Linked DNA regions of Homo sapiens: all the other regions are linked to region 2. The links are contacts of gene promoters, found by promoter capture Hi-C in blood cells and fetal thymus (Javierre and others, 2016). All regions are on one chromosome and are shown on one strand. The core of a region is centred on a gene start or on the middle of the fragment in contact, and the rest is flanking DNA. Distances in the headings are between cores, read along the strand shown. Region 1 holds the start of ITLN1 (intelectin 1). Region 2 overlaps SLAMF1 (signaling lymphocytic activation molecule family member 1). Region 3 holds the start of PEX19 (peroxisomal biogenesis factor 19).

The links. The method cuts DNA at HindIII sites, captures the fragments that hold promoters and counts their contacts. A CHiCAGO score of 5 or more calls a contact.
Region 1: a contact is called between the fragment with the promoter of ITLN1 here and a fragment that was not itself captured in region 2, in 5 of 17 cell types (naive CD4 T cells, megakaryocytes, fetal thymus and 2 more). The highest score is 6.5, in naive CD4 T cells.
Region 3: the fragment with the promoter of PEX19 here is called in contact with a fragment that was not itself captured in region 2 in 3 of 17 cell types (fetal thymus, total B cells and activated CD4 T cells); the score reaches 6.0 in fetal thymus.

The regions. Positions count from the first base shown.
Region 1 is chr1:160,883,801-160,886,500 of GRCh38, forward strand. ITLN1 (intelectin 1) reads right to left here and starts at 1,380. Exons shown (of 8, transcript NM_017625.3): 1 at 1,261-1,380; 2 at 1,020-1,083. The coding sequence starts at 1,077. The HindIII fragment of the contact is 4,692 bases long and covers 1-1,391 here.
Region 2 is chr1:160,620,107-160,622,806 of GRCh38, forward strand. The region is part of intron 4 of SLAMF1 (signaling lymphocytic activation molecule family member 1); the gene reads right to left. Among named protein-coding and RNA genes, the nearest start is that of SLAMF1, 26 kb to the right of the region's middle. The HindIII fragment of the contact is 1,693 bases long and covers 420-2,112 here.
Region 3 is chr1:160,283,691-160,286,390 of GRCh38, forward strand. It overlaps PEX19 (peroxisomal biogenesis factor 19), which reads right to left and starts at 1,443. Exons shown (of 8, transcript NM_002857.4): 1 at 1,365-1,443. The coding sequence starts at 1,434. It overlaps LOC107985219 (a long non-coding RNA gene), which reads left to right and starts at 675. Exons shown (of 3, transcript XR_001738265.2): 1 at 675-1,165; 2 at 2,627-2,671. The HindIII fragment of the contact is 4,290 bases long and covers 1-1,577 here.

The sequences.
Region 1 (2,700 bases), core at 130-2,629, 260 kb after region 2:
CTAAGCACTGAGTAATCAAAGACATTAAAGTTCCCCAGCAAGAGCTTGCCTCTAGAGGGAATTGCTAACAAGTCAACAGAAAATTGTATTGACAAGAATAAATGGTAGAAGAAAGGCAAACTCAAGAGAACAAAAGAAAGACTCTGAGGTAACAGTGGAGAATGGAAACGCCAGACAGTAAGCGGGGCAGTTGCCTGGGAGAAGAAGGCAAGACGGGTTGTCTCATGTCTTAGTCACAGAAGACCTTCCAGTCCAGGTGACATCTTAGCTTATTCTGAGAGAATAAACATGATTTATCAGTAGGAAGCCAATCCAAGGCAGGGAAAACAGCATATCCAAAGGCCTAGAGAAAAAAAAAAAAATACAGCGTAGTCCAGCTGTAGAACTACAAGCTGCTTAATATGGCTGAAACATGGGGTGTGAAGTAGGGAGTGGTGAGACTAATCTCTACTCCAAAAAGTCTGCAAACTATTCGAACAGTCTAGGGGAAAGCTGTGAGGTCAGAGGTGACTGACCTCAGTTTCCTCATACCTAAAACACAGTTAATAAACAGTGCTTTTGCAAAGATGAAGTAAGAAGATATTTCGAAACAGCCTTTTCTTTAAAAAAAAAATTTTTAGACGTGAAGAAAAATATAAATTTTAAAATGTCATTGTTATTCTTGTTGTAGAGAGGAAAACTGTGGAGAGAACATTCTCCAGGCACAAAGCAGACCATGTAGTTCCCATGGAAATCCCACAGCCAAGGCCACAGGAGTGGGCAGTGGCTGGAAGGTGACACAGTTCTTGCCACAGCCCCCTCAGGGCCACACAAAAGCACAGAGCCTGGACCCAGGACATGCCTCAAGCAATACCTTCACTGCCACAGGCCAGATTCCGCCAGAGACCAGAAATCGGCACTCAGTCTACATGCAAGCCAGCCGCTGTGCATCTCAAGGACATGCTCTGTGTCCTGGGAGAGACCAGGATCCCGGAAGTCATCCAGCTGAAGGAACTGCTGTCCCTAGCAGCGTGACTCACCTGTACTCCATCCTCTGGTGGTCGCTATGAGAAACAGCAGGAAGCTGAGTTGGTTCATTGTAATCTAAAGAAAGCAAGATGAAGGTCACCATCTTGGCCATCATTTTTCTCTACATCCCTGCCCCACCCCTGTCCAGTCTTACAAAGACTCCAAAACCCCTTGCCTTTTGTTTAAACTTCACACATCTCTGAGACCAAAAGCAGACCTAAGCTGAAAACAGGATTCCCCCAACTCACAGACCTTGTCTGAGTCTCAGCTGCACTTTCCTTGGGTACAGAGAGCTCCTTCACTCCCTCCCTCCACTGCGCCCTGGAGCTCAACAGAGTGCAGCTTTCTCCAAAAACGCTCCTGATGTGGAATGAGGTGCAGAAAGCTTTATGGAGGAAGCCCAGTGGGGCCAACCAAGGTTTCCAGCCTCACCCTCCCCTGGCACAATGCCCAGTGCAGGGGAGGCTTCTGGTTATCTCGGGGAGGTTATTTATACAGTGGAATTAACAGGTTCTAAAGAAAAAACCAATCCTAAGAATCACCTGCTAGCGTTGTTCCTGGATCTGGGGGTTTCATGGACCTGTGTCAAGTAGGAAGTAGACGAAGAGATTAACAAGAGTTGGTGTTGGTTTTGGGTTTTTGTGCCTTTCTTTCTTGCAAAATAAAAACTTTCTCTAAATTAAGCATCTGTTGGCTTGGCACATTGGCTCAAATCCCAATACTTTGGGAGGCCAAGGCAGAAGGATCACTTGAACTCAGGAGTTTGAGACCAGCCTGGGCAACATAGGGCAACCTCTTCTCTACTAAAAATAAAAGTAAAAAAATTAGCATGGCATGGTGGTACTTGCCTATAGTTTCAGGTGGGGCTGAGGCAAGGCAAAAGGGTAACTTAAGTCCCAGAGATAGAGGATTCAGTGAAATATGACCGTGCCACTGTACTTCAGCTTAGGTATCTCAAAATAAATAAATAAATGAAATTAATCATTGGCCATAATTATCAATTCATAGAAATAGAAAAAGGAAATTTTAACAAAATGGGAAAGTGATCATTTCTGAATAAATTGGTAAAAAGGAATGGAGGGGAAAGAGATACAAAACACACAAAAAAATACGAATAGAAAAGTTTTAAAAAATATATAAATCTTTAGTTTGAATAATTTAGTTTCACACAAAGACTCACTACTTTGTCTTTAATTTTGTCATTTTGCCACAAACGAGGGAAAATTTACTACAGGATTCATTTGAAACTGAATCAATACGAAACCTCTCTGCTGCTTCGAACCTCCTGTCTTATTCCTGCTCCTATGTCATGAAGTTCTCAAATGCTACCCTGCAGCTGTAATAGAATTACTCAGTTCTTCCCCAGTGATATCATACATTTAATACATAATGTCATTATAGCATTAATAATACTGCAACCTTTTCTTACAAAGATTGTGAATATCTTTTTTGTTAAGCTAATATTTCCTATTTGTTGGTTCAAAGTACTGATTTGCAAAAAATACTCACATATTGATAGAAGAAAATAAAATAGCACCCAAGAAGAAAAACTGCAAAAAAAAGTTATACTTTTGTAAATTTAAAATCTATTAGAAGCTATTTGCTCTGTGTATCTGGAAAATAATTAATTAAATAAAATTAAATGTATTAGAAACTAAATTAACTCATCAGTATAGGTAACAAAATGAACAT
Region 2 (2,700 bases), core at 16-2,515:
TGTAAAGTGTTTAGAACACTGCCTGGTGCATAACAAATGCCCAATACGCATTAGGTGTTTTTCTCATTGGTGTACCATTCAATTACTTTAATCTCTGTTGCTCAATGTGCATATCTGGTCTCCTAATAGGATTCTAAGTTCTTTGAGGGCAGGGCTAGTTGTTTATACCTCTTTTGTATTTTCCAGCTGGTAGTATGTTGCTTCACTCACAGCTTTCTCACCTCCCTATTTCTGGGGGAATTGATGTGTGGGAGGTAAGGGCGGGGGGACGTGTAAGAGGGATGTTCCACCTGGGACTATTTAGAAAATAAAGCAACAATGTCATTCTGTTGCCCACCATCTGGAAATTTTGCTCAGGGCCTAGGGTCTCTGGAAATTAATAAGTTGCAGAATATTTTAATTTTTAGCCAATTTTAAAAAGCTTTCTTTTTAAATTATAGGAGTAATTTATTCTCATCATAAAATAAAAATTGTGAAGAAATATATAAAGTATAAAGTAAAAAGTATAAATCCCCTTCTTCCATTAACCAACCCAATTTCATTCCCAAAAGAAACCGTATTTTTCAATACCTGTGAAAAGAAGTGGGAAAAAAAAGAAGAAACCATTTTTAAAAGTTTGATGTATATCCCTGTAGATCAGCTCTGTGCAACAGAACTTTCTGAGATGATGGAAATGTTCCATATCTGCAGTGTCTAATACAGCTTACAGACACGGGGCTATGGAGCACCTGAACTGTGACTAATGTCACTGAATTTTAAATTTTATTTAATTCAAATTAATTTAAATTTAAAAAGCCACATGTGGCTAGTGACTACCATATTAGACAATGCAGTTTTGGATATTTGCTATACTTATATAGACTTTTTTCCACACAAGAGGTGTCATTCTGCACACACTTCTCTGTAACTTGATCTTTTCACTTAAAATGTATTGAGGACATTTTTCATGTTAGCACAGTAGACCTATCTCATTCTTTCTAAAGTTGCACAGTATCCTTTGTATACATCATGCAGCAGTAAGGATGGTGGGAAAGTGGCAGACTGAAGGATGGAGGTTTATTATGGGATTATTGCAAAGTCCAGGCAGAGGCAATGGAGGCTGGACCCAGAAAATCACAGCCTTTAAGGTAGACTTATTTTAACACCAGTTAATTTATTCTCTTAAAAAACTGGGCTGGGTGCAGTGGCTCACGCCTATAATCACAGCACTATGGGAGGCTGAGGTGGGCAGATCACGAGGTCAGGAGTTTGAGACCAGCCTGGCCAACATGGGGAAACCCTGTCTCTACTAAAAATACAAAAATTAGCCAGGCATGGTGGCACGCGCTTATAATTTCAGCTACTCAGGAGGCTGAGACAGAAGAACTGCTTGAGCCCAGGAGACAGAGGTTGCAGTGAGCCGAGATCATGCCATTGCACTCCAGCCTGAGTGACAGAGCAAGAATCTATCTCAAAAAAAAAAAAAAAAAAAAAAAGGCACATCTCTGAGGAAATAGCATTTTTAGGAGAGGCACATTTTTCTTTGGAAGGGAAAGGCCCAGTGTGTATGTGGTGAGCATGGTGGAATGTGCTGCGTGAGGGTGTGAGTCTTGGGGAGGAAATGTGGGGCAGACACTGATGAAGTTCCAGGAATTCAAGGAAAGTCAACATGGGATTTTTTGTGTGTGGGTATGAGCACGGTGTGCCTAGTGGTTTCAACTTCGCTTTTTTGGTCAGAGTTGATCCTGACTGAGGAGTGTGCGTGAGTGCGTGTGTGTGTGTGTGTGTGTGTGTGTGTGTGTAAAATGGAGGGGAGGACTCAAGAAGCAGTTGGAGGTAGCAGAGGAGGTTCAAGTTAGTCCCCACGAGTGTTTGCAAAGTAAGACATGCCTGCCCAGCACTCTCCTAGGTGCTGTAGTGGCTACAAATAGAGTAGAGAACAGACTACAGTCCTCAAAGACTTTCAGTCTTGCAGGTCAGCTCAGAGTCAAATGTAGAACTGGAAGGACAGTCCTAAATGGTCAGACAGATGGAAGAGGTGAGGTTGATTGTTGCTGCTTAAAAGGACCATTGGACCAAGATAATTTAGTCTCAGGTTATTTTCCCCAGTGCAAGAACAGGTTTTTAGGAGTAAGCTTAACTCGGCTCCAAGTCAGCAAGGTCTTAGGCTCTAAGGAAAAAGTCTTGGCCTTAAAATTAGGACATCTACATTGTAGCCATCATTAGCTGTGTGGCATTGGACAAATCACGTCATCTCAATGGGTCTTTTCTCTTACCATAACTGTAAAATGAGGGCATAGAGTATCTAATATCCTTTTCAGCTTTTACCTGAAGCATAAAGTCTTATGTTACCATGACTTAAAATATTTTCAATCTGTTCTAGGTATTGTTTCCAGATGCTTCCAGTGCAGCTTCTCCTGGCCATAGCACTTACACATTGCCATTTTAATTCATCTACACTAAGAGATCTGTCTATCTGTCTATGTATCTATCTGTCTATGTATCTATCTATCTATCACCCATCGATGGGAACCACTGTGTTCAGTGTTTTCTGTGTATTGATACCAATCTCCACCACAATACCATGAAGTACATAGTATTACCCCTGTTTTGCAGACGAGAAGTTAAGTCATTTGATCACACAGCTTGTCAGTAGCAAAATCTGCATCTGAATGTAAGTTTGTCTAATGCCTATACCCACATTCTTTATCAGTGTATTCT
Region 3 (2,700 bases), core at 193-2,692, 340 kb before region 2:
GCAAGGCTGGGTGGTTTCTGGGCAAAGCATTAGGAATATGATTTTTCAAATTGCCAACTTTCCTCAATTTTCCTCCTTGAGTCCCCCACCTCCCCAGACCACCCTCAATGAGCCTCCTACTTCCTTCTGGATTACCTAATTTATTGTGAGCAAAGGCAAAGAAATCCCTTAAGGTGGAACAAATGTCCATCTCAGAGCTGGGAGGAGAGGATTAAAAAGTTCTGCAGAGACATCTCCATCTATAGTGTCTCCCTTGCCACACCCTAACGATTCCCTAGAAATCCCATACAAATACCCAACAGTAGTAGAGAACACAGATGTCCTCATCCCTCTGAACTCACTCTGGAGCTCTAAAAGGAATAACTTGGTGAGAAAGCACAGGACATCCCACCCAGCTTCCTGTTGGTACTGGTACCAGCACAGACTGAGGGACTACATACCAGACTCCATGGTACGGCATTAAACTATCTTCTCTTATTCTCCAGTTTAGTGCTCCCCAACAACCTTCTAGAGCTCCCTTTGGCCTGATCTCTGCAGATAACCGTACACTAATTTACACAGTCACTTGGCACTCCTCAGGGTTTCTGTTCATTTTTCTGCCTGCCCACATCTCCGTGATTGAGCAAGCGATTACAAATTCACCTCTGCCCTGAAAAGCCTGTGTCCTCACCACCATTCTGTTCGCCAGGCCTAGGGAGAGAGCACTGGCCCTACTCTGGGCAGGAAGTCAACAGGGGAGTGGAGAGTAATGCTAAGAAAACATCCCCCGTCTTTCAGGAGGGTGAACTGCTTTCCCCTGAAATCGCCACATCCTCAGTTTCTCAAAATAAGGGAAAGGAGTCCGCTTGAGCTACTGACAAGATGAAAGAACTGTTAAGGGGCCTAACGAGAGAAAGAGAAAAGGACTAGGAGGAGAAAAGTGTCTTTCGTGTTAAGGAAGACAGGACGAGGCACACAAGGACCGGCCACGAGCTTGCTAGGAGTTAATGTAAGCAATCAGTGAGTGCGTAGTTCGCTACCCAGCAAGAACCAAATGCTGCTGCTGCTGCTACTGCTGCTGAAGTCGAACTTTAAGAACTCAGTAACCTAAAGAGGAGTTTGAAGAGGTATCATGAAACGCCGTCCTGCGGAAACATCCACCATCCGGACCACTGAGGGACCCCAGGTGAGCTCCCCAGCTCCAGTCGCCGGGGTGGGGCAGGATGACCCAGAGATTTTTGGGGGGCTCGGGGGTCAGACTCTCCGCCCCCATTTAACCTTTGGAGAGCCTCTCCTGCCCGTCCCTAATATCTCAGGTTCACTTAACCCCCAGAATGGGTCCTCACACGTGCCCTCTTCGGGCCTTTCCCACTATGGGCTCTTACTTTCCAGAAGCTCCTCCAATTCCCTGTCCGCTTCGGCCCCGACACTACAGCCTTCCTCAGCGGCGGCCATCTTGCTACCTCCGACTTGCCGTAGGAGGCGGGACCTCCTCGGTGCCGACACGCCCTCCACCCCTTCGCTCCCGCCCTCTTCTGCCTCGGGTAACCAATGGTATTGTTGACCAGTGCGGAACCGCCATTTTTAAAGGGCCAGGAAGCTTTGAGTGTTTGTGTTTTGGGTATTTTTCCCTTTTCTCCTGTGAAACAGAATTAGGGATAAGATAGGGTTATTTTCTGTCTGGTTTTAGAGGCCCGGACTCCTTTCTTTCAACTTCCCAAATTACCTGGCGAAGCTCTTTCATTATTTTTTCCTGAGCTGTGAGTAGGCCAGATTGAGACAAACTGCCTACAAATAACCAGAATCTAAACATATATAATTGATATGACAATTATGGCACATAACATACTACTTTCTCTCACTTCATTTTTTTTTTTTTATTTTTTTTTGAGAAGGAATCTTGCTCTGTCGCCTACGCTGGAATGCAGTGGCGCCATCTCGGCTCACTGCAGCCTTGGCCTCCCGGGTTCAAGCGATTCTTCCTGCCTCAGCCTCCCGTGTAGCTGGGATGACAGGCGCGCGACACCACGTCCGACTAATTTTTGTAGAGACGGGGTTTTAACATGTTGGCCAGGCTGGTTGGCCAGGCTGGTCTCGAACTCCGGACCTCAGCTGATCCGCCCACCTCGGCCTCCCGAAGTGCTGGGATTACAGGCGTGAGCCACTGCGCCCGGCTTCACTTCATTGTTTCCCTCAAATATTATCTTTTCTGAAACGCTTTCCTTGGCCATTCCCGTTCCTTTTCTTCCTAACACTGAACAGTATCTGACATACTATCTACCGTACTTTTTTATTCTCCGCTCCCCACCCTGCAGAATTTAAACACCATGAACGCAAAGATTTTCGTCTGTTGTCTTCACTGCTGTAAAGCCCAACTCCCAGGCTAGGGTTTAAAACTTAGTAGGCATTCATTGGCCACTCTTTGCTCTCGCAGTCCCTAATCAGGCACATCTGTCTGCCCAATCTAGTGGCATCTCTCATTTCCTATTATCTATTAGAACTGTTTGATTAAAGGACACAGGGCCGGCCAGGAACTTAGAACTCCATGTTATTAAGAGAGCCTCTGGTACCTTGGACTGAGCAGGGCAATTCGAATGCAGTAGTAATAGACTTACTTTCCCTGAACAATCTCCTTTTCTCCACACAGAACCCAACCTCCAACTGAGTGAACACGGGGAATGCTCAGATAGAGGTAACTCTAGACGTCCCTTTCCTCCTTTG